Regions from separate parts of the Homo sapiens genome. Here region 2 is linked to region 1. The links are contacts of gene promoters, found by promoter capture Hi-C in human tissues and cell types (Jung and others, 2019). All regions are on one chromosome and are shown on one strand. The core of a region is centred on a gene start or on the middle of the fragment in contact, and the rest is flanking DNA. Distances in the headings are between cores, read along the strand shown. Region 1 holds the start of RORC (RAR related orphan receptor C). Region 2 overlaps PI4KB (phosphatidylinositol 4-kinase beta).

Region 1 (5,020 bases), core at 853-3,352:
TCCTTTGCCTAGAATGCCTGTCCCTCCTGTACCCCTTAATCTAGCCAACTTCTCTTTCTCCCTCAGGTCTCTGATTATGTTTCTTCCTTGGAGAAGCCACACACACCCCCTTCCCCTGCCCTTGTGCTGACACATTTAGCTCCTTGCATTTTATTTCCTGGCACTCACCATGTCACCAACTGTCACCTAACTGCTGTAATTGTGTCATTGTCTATGAAATGGGTCTTTCCTGCCAAATTGTAAAGCCCTGTGAAGGCAGGGACTGTGTTGGTCTTATTTACTTTGTAATTTCATTGGAGGTGCACAAGAAATATCCTACAGCCAGAGTTAAATCTCTGTGGGACTGAAATCTCTTGGTTGCTTATCTATGCCTGAAAACACCAGGGCTTCAGAGATGTGGGGGTTGGGAGTAGGGGGAGAGGATGTTTGGAGGAAGAGGAGGGGAGAGTTGCAAATACAGACCCCTCTCTGGCTTCCACGGGCCAGGCTTCCCTGGCCTACCAGCCTGAAGAGGAAGGCCTCCCTTCTCTGCTGCTGCTGCGTGGCCGGGTCTGGGTGGAGATTGGGCAGTAGGGAGCATGAGTGGGTCGATGGGGGTCACATGGATACTCGGACCTCCAGGGGGAGCAGCCGTTGAGGGGAGGGCCTTAGCTGGAGCATGGTTGGTGGGTGGGGGGGTGTCACCCATTCATGCAGTTAACATCTATGAAACACCTAGCCAGGGAGCCCCTGGAAAGAGGATTCCCCTGCCAGACCTTGGCCCATTTCCTACATCCACATAGCAGCTCATCACAGAACACATGGCCAGTCTTTTGTCTCAGAAAGCCCTTCAACCATGCCCTATACCCCCTATAGCTTCCCTAACCTCTGACTCTATTCTGTTATTTTTTTCCTTCTGCTGTTCAGTCTTGACACCTGACATACACACACACACACACACACACACACACACACACACACACAGTGCCCTTCTGCCCGGGAGATGCTCCCCACTGGCAGGCCGTGGTCACTAGGCTGTGTGGAGGCGAGTGGCCTGATGGCCTGGGCTCTGCTGGGGTGAGGGAGGAGAAAAGACTGCCCCGAGGTGGCAAGGCCCCACCCAGCCCCGCCCACCTCCCCTTGCTCCTGCCTGGCCCCACCCAGCTTCCTCCCTGACGTGGCACCGGCTCCTGGCCTCTAGCCTTGCACCTCAGAGCAGTCCTGTGGTGGGGGTGCTCCCCTTGCTCACCCAGGCAGCCAGTTCTTCCTCCACCAGGTGGCCCTGGAGCTTGGTGGCTCTGGCCCTCAAACTTTCCTCCTCCATGCTCACAGCTGACCAAGCCTGTGGCCCTGCGATCCTGCTCTGAGGGGGTTCCTGACTTGGACCATGGGTGGGGCCAAGGACGGCCTGACATTCTGTCCTTCCCTGCTGATGGCCCAGTGCCCCACATTCTCTGCAGAGATGAAATCCCACATCCCTGGGTGAGTGGCGAGGAAAGGACCAGGCTACGTGGTCATGGGCAGCTGACAGGGTGTGGTTCCCCCTGCCACACTCCCCAAGTCTGTCACTCCTTAAAGGACAGGTTTCTCCACTGGTGAATGAACAGAAGGTGGAGCAGCCAGCCTCCCGGCCACTGCTGTCTGGGGTCCTGGCCAGATCAAGGAAGCAGTGTCCCTGTGCCTCCTGGGGGGTAAGCCCACACCTGGGAGGGCCTGTCCACATTCTGACCCCTCGCTGGGTCTAGATCTGGCTCCCCTGACTTGGCTCTTCCCTCCCCATCTACCCTCCAACCTGTTTCTTCCTTCTCCCGCTTCTCCCTTTCTTTCCTGTTTCTCTCCTTTTGCGATTTCTTCTCCTCTGTCATCTCCCCAGCCCCTCCTCCTGTTTCTCCTCCAGTTTCACTCCCTGCCAACCCAGGGCTTTCTCCTCTGCACTCTTGTCCCTCCCTCCCCTCCTCACTTCTTGCCCAGTCTCTTGCCATTTCTGCCCTCCTCTGAACCTCCAGCAGTCTCTTCCACCTGCAGGCAGGGCCATGGGCCTCTTACCCCGTGAGGCTCGGTGCTGTCTCTGTGGGGCCCTGTCCATGGGGCAGCTCCCTTGGTGCCGTCCTGGCTGCCCTGGCTGCCCAGGAGGGCAGGGAGCAGGGCCCAGGGGAGGGAGGAGGGCGGAGGGTGGAAGGCGGGAGCACCTGGCCCTCCAGCAGGCAGGGAAAAGGAGTGGCTGGCAGAGTGTCCTGGCACCAGGAGGGGACATGAGGAGAGACCAGTGGACCAGTGCATGGAGCCTTGAGGAGAAACAGGACAGGAGAAAGGAAGGGAACTAGCATTTATTAATCACTTACTGTGTGCTGGGCCCTTTGCAGGACACTTTATGTAAATCCATGCTTTTACTTTGTGTAAATATTCACAGCACCCACCACAGGGAAACATTATTATTCCAGATTGATCAGTGAGTGGAGGGATTCTCAGAGATATTAATGATTTTGCCCAAGGACTCACACAAGAACAATAAATGGGTGAGCTATGATTTGGACCCAAGTCTTTGTGACTTTAGAATCCTGTGATTTCTACCTAAGACAGGTGACAGGCATAGGGGAGATGGAGAGGGCAGGTTTGGGGGACTGTGTCTCTTCTCTAGGATGCAGTCAGACTCCTCCCAGTGACTGTTCAGTTCCCTGAGGCCTCTGCCTGCTCGGCCCCTGCCCCTAACCCTTGCTGCTCTTGCCAGGACTCCCTGACCCCCTGATGCTTCTACGTGCTCCTCATCTGTTGGGGCAAGGGGCAGGCCTGGAGGAGTGCCTGGAGGCAGAGAAGCCATGGTGGGGAAGAGGAGAGGAGAGATGCTGCACTGGACTCATTGGGAGAAGGAGAGGCTCCCAGACCTAGTGGCCCACACTGAGGCCTGCAGTGAAGGCTCTGAAGGGGGCCAAGAGGACGAGGCTTCTGGGGATCCTGGTGCTGCTTTTCTCCTGCATGGCCTGGGCCCAGAGTTTGATTAGCTGGGCCTGACTCTCCTGGTTACCCAACAAGCAACTGGCCAGGGGCCAGGCTGCAGCAAGAGGCTCCCTGGCACCTCCTCCTGCTCTCGTTCCCAGCTGGTAAACAGCAGAGCAGGAGTCAGCCATGCCACAGCCTCGTGACTCGCCCACTCCCCCCCACCTGGTGCACGTGGCACCTGGCATGGAGAGGGCAAGCAGCTGTCCCTTCCCTCTTCTGCCGTCTCGTCTCGCCATCCTCCACTCCTGCCCAACCCTGGAGCTTCACACTCTGCTACCATCAGCACCTCTGTTCTTAGGTAGCTCCCAGAGTCTCCCCATGGCTGCAGATTGAGAGATAAAGGTAGAAGTGGAGAAGGACTTTTCAACTCCTAGGGTCATTGACAGTGGATGAGTAGTGAGAAAGAGGAGGGGAAGTTTTGGGGACCTTCTGCACTGAGTCTAAGGGTATGTGCCTATGCCTCTGAGGCTCTGATTATCCCCCGTGTTCTTTTGGTAAATGTGGGCCCACGCATCCATGTATGCATCTCTGCACAGAACAGGATGTTGGTCTGTTTGGGGGCTCTGCACCTTGGGCAGGTTTGGAGTGAGAGGTAAAGTGCTTTGCAGCTCCCTTCCCCCCCGCCCCCCCAGCACCCTCCAGCTGACAGGAGGAGCCAGCAACATGCCGGGCGTGGGAGTGCAGGGGAGATGCCGTTCTGCTCCCCTCCTCCCCAGAACTCCTCAGTTATCCCCCATCTCTCTGTCTCTCTTTGCTGGCTCCTGCCTGTCTGTGGCTCTTCTCCAGCTGTCCCCTCTCTATCTTTTCTCCTTTTTAGGCCTCTCTTCCTCTTGACTCTGGGTCTCCCAGGGGCCCTTCGTGACTACCTCTTCTACAACCCACCAATTGCAGGCACAGAGTGGAGGTCACGTAGAATGCTTGCGGATGGACACAGAGCATCCCCAGACACTGCAGGCACAGCTGACTCCCCAGTTGTGCCACTTTGTGCTACTATGTAGGGTGGGGAGGAAGTGACTGGAGATTTAGAAGACAGTATCCTGACCTCTAGGCCTAGGAGTGTCACATGCTTCCTAGGCATTCTCTACCTCTCCCCTGCCCTAAGCATGGATAGTTTGAGTTTTTTTTCTCCCCAGGGCAAGAAGATCCCTTGGTTATCCTTATGGGAAGTTCCCCCTCTTGTCTAAACTTTCTCCCTCTTGCTGCAATCACAGCCCCTTATCTGGAAGAATCGTCCTTTCAAAGCAGGGCGGTGGTTATTTCCTCTTCAAATACAATCTTATATAAGGAAGGGGCTGATAGGGATCAGAGAATCATTTCATCCCCACGTGCCCAGTCCCCTTATTGGGGAAATCTCCATGCTGGGGGCAAACACTCTGGAAGGGATGGGAGGTGGTGGTGGTGGCTTGGAACTGGGGAGCAGTCCCCAGCATCTCTTTCCTTCCTTCCCCAACCCTAAACCACAGAAACCACTTAAAGCTCAGCACAAATCTGCCCTTTCAGGGAGGGCCTGGGGGTCAAGGTGGAAAATATGTGGAGCCTGGGTAGTCTGCGGTGGCACACACTTCCCCAGCCCCATCCTTGGAGGGCCCTCTCCTTGGGATGCCTGATCCAGTGATTAGGGACCACTTTTCTTTGGGTTCTAGGGGGTTCCATGCCTGGGGACGCCTCAACCCACTGGAGTGACTCAGGGATGGGTTGTGCCTCAACCGTTGAAAAAGGACAGCCCAGGCTCTGTAACCTTCGGTAGCCTCCAGATCTCACAGTCCCCACCCCTCCCCCTTCTTGTCACAAAGGCCACTGTGGGTGGAGGAACAGTGGGAGTTTGACCCTAGCTCCTGGCCTTGAACTTTCCACAGTGACCCTGCTTGTACCTCTCCTCTACCAATTAACATTTATAGTCACACAGGCTTGGAGGTGGCAAGAAGGGTTTAAATGCTGGGGCAGAATCACTTATAAGAATGTGGTCTGCCATTTACTAGCTGTAGGCCCTGAGGGAAATCTCAGCCCTCAGCTACCACATCAGTAAAAATGGGGCAATAATACC
Region 2 (4,827 bases), core at 1,189-3,688, 510 kb before region 1:
TGTTGCCCAGGCTGGAGTGCAGTGGCATGATCATAGCTCACTGTAACCTTGAACTCCTAGGCTCAAGGCATCCTCCTGCCTCAGCCTCCCGAGTAGCTAGGACTTTAGGTGTGTGCCATCATGCTCAGCTAATTAAAAAAAAATTTTTTTGTGCAGATGGCGTCTTGCTGTGTTGCCCAGGCTAGCTTTGAACGCCTGGCCTCAAGCAATTCTCCTGCCTCAGCCTCCCAAAGCACTAGGATTACAGGTGTGAACCACCTTGCCCAGCCATCTTTATTTAATATTAAAGTCTTGGCTAGGCGCAGTGGCTCACGCCTGTAATCCCAGCACTTTGGGAGGCCGAGGTGGGCAGATCACGAGGTCAAGAGATCGAGACCATCCTGGCCAACATGGTGAAACCCCGTCTCTACTAAAAATACAAAAATTAGCCAGGCGTGGTGGCAGGCGCCTGTAATCCCAGCTACTCAGGAGGCTGAGGCCGGAGAATTGCTTGAACCTGGGAGGTGGAGGTTGCAGTGAGCCGAGATTACGCCATTGCACTCCAGCCTGGAGACAGAGTGAGACTCTGTCTCAAAAAAAAAAAAAAAGGCCGGGCGCGGTGGCTCACGCCTGTAATCCCAGCACTTTGGGAGGCTGAGGCAGGCGGATTACCTGAGGTCAGGAGTTCGAGACCAGCCTGACCAACATGGAGAAACCTCGTCTCTACTAAAAATACAAAATTAGCTGGGCGTGGTGGCGCATGCCTGTAATCCCAGCTACTTGGGAGGCTGAGGCAGGAGAATCGCTTGAACCCGGGAGGCAGAGGTTGTGGTGAGCCGAGATCGCACCGCTGCACTCCAGCCTGGGCAACAGAGCGAAACTCTGTCTCAAATAAATAAATAAATAAATAAATAAATAAAATTAAAGTCTTGATATATTTTTCTGGTTACAGGTATTTTTTTACCTTCCCTTTTAAACTCGAAGTTCCCAGAAAATAAAGGCCAGTAAATACCATGCCAGGCTTCACTTAGAAGAAGGCAGCTCTAAAACAACCATCATCAACCCTGCTGAAGCTGTGCCGTTTCTCTGGTTGTCTGACATCATGACATCACACCCTCTTTCTCCAGTGCCGTGGCTGCTAACATATAATGGAAAGAGCTCTGGACTTGAAGGCAAATAGGCTGGGGTTGAAAATCCTCATTCAGCCTTTCAGAAATGTGCAACTTATGCAAGCCATTTATCCTCAACTGCAAATTGGGAAAAAACACTTCCTTCTCATTGTTGCTATGTGGAACAAATACCATCACGTGTATGAAAGAATCTAGCACAGTCTTTGATACATAGTAGTACTCAATATATGCTAGTTGAGGCCGGGCACAGTGACTCATGCCTGTAATCCCAGTGCACTGGGTGGCTGAGGCAGGTGGATCACTTTGAGGTCAGCAGTTCAAGACCAGCGAGACTCTGTCTCAAAAAAAAAAAAAAGAAATGCTAGTTGAATCCTCATCACCTAAAAGGTTACTAACCAGTGTGTGTGTAACATAAAACTTATATTATTTTATAAGGGAAGCAAAGAGTTCCAATTGTTTGAGAATCTTCCAGAAATACTTATGACAGCCTTTTCTGCCCCAATACCACTCCCCCCACTGTCATACACACATTCTAACAACTGGAGGGACAATTGAAAAGGCAAAAAGAAATCAGACTAGGACTCATAGATCTAGGCCTTCCAAAGAACAGGGAGGAACAGGAGTCACAAAACAAAGAACACCTCCTCTGGAGGGACTGTTGGAAGGAAGTTCAATGAAAGAACACTGCTGACCAAAGCCACTGCTCTCCAAGAACAATCCTTCAGAGCCTCACCAAATCTGGAATCAGTGCAGAACTGGGGAAATTTCATCAGATCAACCTGGCTCCAGAATCTGACTATAGCTAACAAAGGACTCAGACTCAGAGGCCTCTTCACAAAAATGCTAATAGAGTGAGTCTAAGACACACTCAAGAGCATGAGCAAGAGGAAAGATTTTGTAGAGTTGGAATACAGGTAATTTCAAAATATTAGTGACATCACCTTCAACCCCGGTGACCCTGGATGCATATACTTTGGGTAGGTGGAATAAGGAGGCCTAGAGATTCTTTAGTCCCTCTGGGAGGCTGTTTTCCACCACCACCCTTCCAGTGTCTGTTCTTGTACGTCTGAAATGTTAAGGTTACTTTTTTTTTCTTTTTGAGACGGAGTCTCGCTCTGTCGCCCAGGCTGGAGTGCAGTGGTGCAATCTTGGCTCACTGCAAGCTCCGCTTCCCGGGTTCATGCCATTCTCCTGCCTCAGGCTCACAAGTAGTTGGGACTACAGATGCCCGCCACCACGCCCGGCTAATTTTTTGTATTTTTAGTAGAGGCAGGGTTTCACCATGTTAGCCAGGATGGTCTCGATTTCCTGACCTCGTGATCTGCCCACCTCGGCCTCCCAAAGTGCTGGGATTACAGGTGTGAGCTGCCGCGCCCGGCCCCAGGTTACTTTTAACTGCCCAATATCATATAGTCCAGCTCCCTGCCTCCCAGCAGTCACCACTAAAGTTTTGCAGAAAGACGGATGGGGAACTCTTCTGTTCTCAGAGATCACCAAAAAAGGCTATTTCTGTTTCTTTCTGCCAACTCTGCCAAGCAAGTTCATTCCTGAATTTAATATCCCTGATGCAGATTGAGCTTGGTATTGGTAAGAAGGTGGCAACTCTTTCACTATGCTCTCTCCCAAAATTAGGTAGTGCCCTCTGAGCAGTAGAACCAGCATGGCTGCCTATGTGGATCTGTCCCTACTCGCAACTGTGAGTTGCACAGGAATAATAAGAAGGAAGCTTTAATCATTCCCTGCCACACCTTCGTAGGGCACTCTCATCAGAGGGTCACCGATTCAACGGGGACCACTACCTTTTAGGTCTGCTTAGAAACTCATGTGATAGCCTCAATCATCTTAAACAATCAACTTCTTTTTCTCAGTCTCTATGTTTGGTACATCCTTTCCTCTCCCTCTAGTCCACAGACTTTTAAGTCACTGAAAGCTCCTAGAAGTACACTTTTCAAAACTTTCAAGGGAAATACAGTTCAGACATTCTCCCACATAATAGTGTCTCAGACCTCACTAGAAAATTTAGCAGATGCCTGCCCCAATTAACTACGATTGGGATTATTACTGGCACCAGGAAGGCAAATAAGGATACTATCACCTCTTTTATCTCACAGACAAAAGAAAAACTCCCAGGGCTCAGCTAAGAATCACATCACAGTATTCAGAGGATTTTGCTACTGAACAGACTCTCCCTCCCGGCAGCTTTTACTCCTCAGGGAGCTAGACAGTGTTGAGAGGTGCAGGAAAAAACAGACTCCTCTCCTATATAAGCAGCTCTACCACTAGAAACCACCAAACTGGAGCTGGGTCTCTTCCCTGGCCTCTCAGGAACCCAGGCACTGCCTGCATCTGAAGCAAGTCATATGGAGAAGAAGGTGTTGTAGGGAATAGGGTTAAATTGCTTTAGCTATTTATTATTACTATTATTTTTATTTTATTTATTTTTTTGAGACAGAGTCTTGCTCTGTTGCCCTGGCTGGAGTGGAGTGCAGTGGCGCAATGTTGGCTCACCGCAACCTCCGCCTCCCAGGTTCAAGCGATTCTCCTGCCTCAGCCTCCCAAGTAGCTGGGATTACAGACACCCGCCACCATGCCCAGCTTGCTTCATTTAGTTTTGAATGCCAAGAAAATATGCCTTTGTGGGCAGGGCATGGTGGCTCACGCCTGTAATCCCAGCACTTTGGGAGGCTGAGGAGGGCAGATCACGAGGTCAGGAGATGGAGACCATCCTGGCTAACACAGTGAAACCCCGTCTCTACTAAAAATACAAAAAATTAGCCGGGCATGGTGGTGGGCACCTGTAGTCCCAGCCACTTGGGAGGCTGAGGCAGGAGAATAGCATGAACCCAGGAGGCGGAGCTTGCAGTGAGCCGAGATCACACCACTGCACTCCAGCCTGGGCGACAGAGTGAGACTCTGTCTTAAAAAAAAAAAAAAAAAAAAGCCTTTGAGGGTAACTGTTCTAAAGAAAATGAAAGGACTGGAAAGCAAAAGAAAAGGTGAAGGAAAAAGTCCTGTATTCAACAGCCTTCCCCTTCTAAGTCAGAGGAATAAGAAAAAAGTGACGGAAGACAATCTAAATTTTTAATATTAAATGACTCCTATGGCCTTCAAGGGGGTTCAGACAACTGAGGCTCTACACTTCACACTGGGAACCTAAATTCTCCTTCCAGTCAGACTGGAAGGGAAATGGAAGAGGCCTCCCCTGTTCCACAGCCTAACAGCTGGCCCCTAGGAAAAGTTGACAACTGACTGAGTTCCACAGCTCCCAACTGGGCAAAGTAGGGAATTCTGGTCTGAGTGACAAGGAATTGTTACAGGTCACACAGAGCAGCAGCTGGAGAAGACACAGAAGATATACACATATGTTCTGTGTGACTGAGCAGTTAAAATACATGTCTGCAGAGGACTCTCTGGGGAGGAGATGCTATCGCTTAACCTAGCTCCCCATTTCTTATCACCTCAAAAGATTCCAGGCAAACAACTTTCTACTGGCCTCCATTAAAGGACTTATTGGATCAGTCTCTGCTAGGACAGAATGGTAAAGAGCCCCAAATCAATCCCCTCACCCAGTTAATCACCATTCTCTTTTTCAAAATTTTTTCCATGGACTAGATAAATATGGATTGGTTTGCACCAATTCTGATATTTTTATGTTCTTATATTTTCATAGAATGGCTTTAAGAGATCATCTGATCTAGTGCCCTGCTTCCAAGCAGGC

The links. Contacts are between HindIII fragments. The study calls those that stand out against the background at their distance.
Region 2: a contact is called between a fragment that was not itself captured here and the fragment with the promoter of RORC in region 1, in 1 of the 25 tissues and cell types used here (lymphoblastoid cells).

What each region holds. Positions count from the first base shown.
Region 1 is chr1:151,829,700-151,834,719 of GRCh38, forward strand. RORC (RAR related orphan receptor C) reads right to left here and starts at 2,103. Exons shown (of 11, transcript NM_005060.4): 1 at 2,026-2,103. The coding sequence starts at 2,065. RefSeq lists enhancers at 1-37, 724-1,411. The HindIII fragment of the contact is 16,173 bases long and covers 1-5,020 here.
Region 2 is chr1:151,317,844-151,322,670 of GRCh38, forward strand. The region is part of intron 1 of PI4KB (phosphatidylinositol 4-kinase beta); the gene reads right to left. Among named protein-coding and RNA genes, the nearest start is that of PI4KB, 7.2 kb to the right of the region's middle. The HindIII fragment of the contact is 7,586 bases long and covers 1-4,827 here.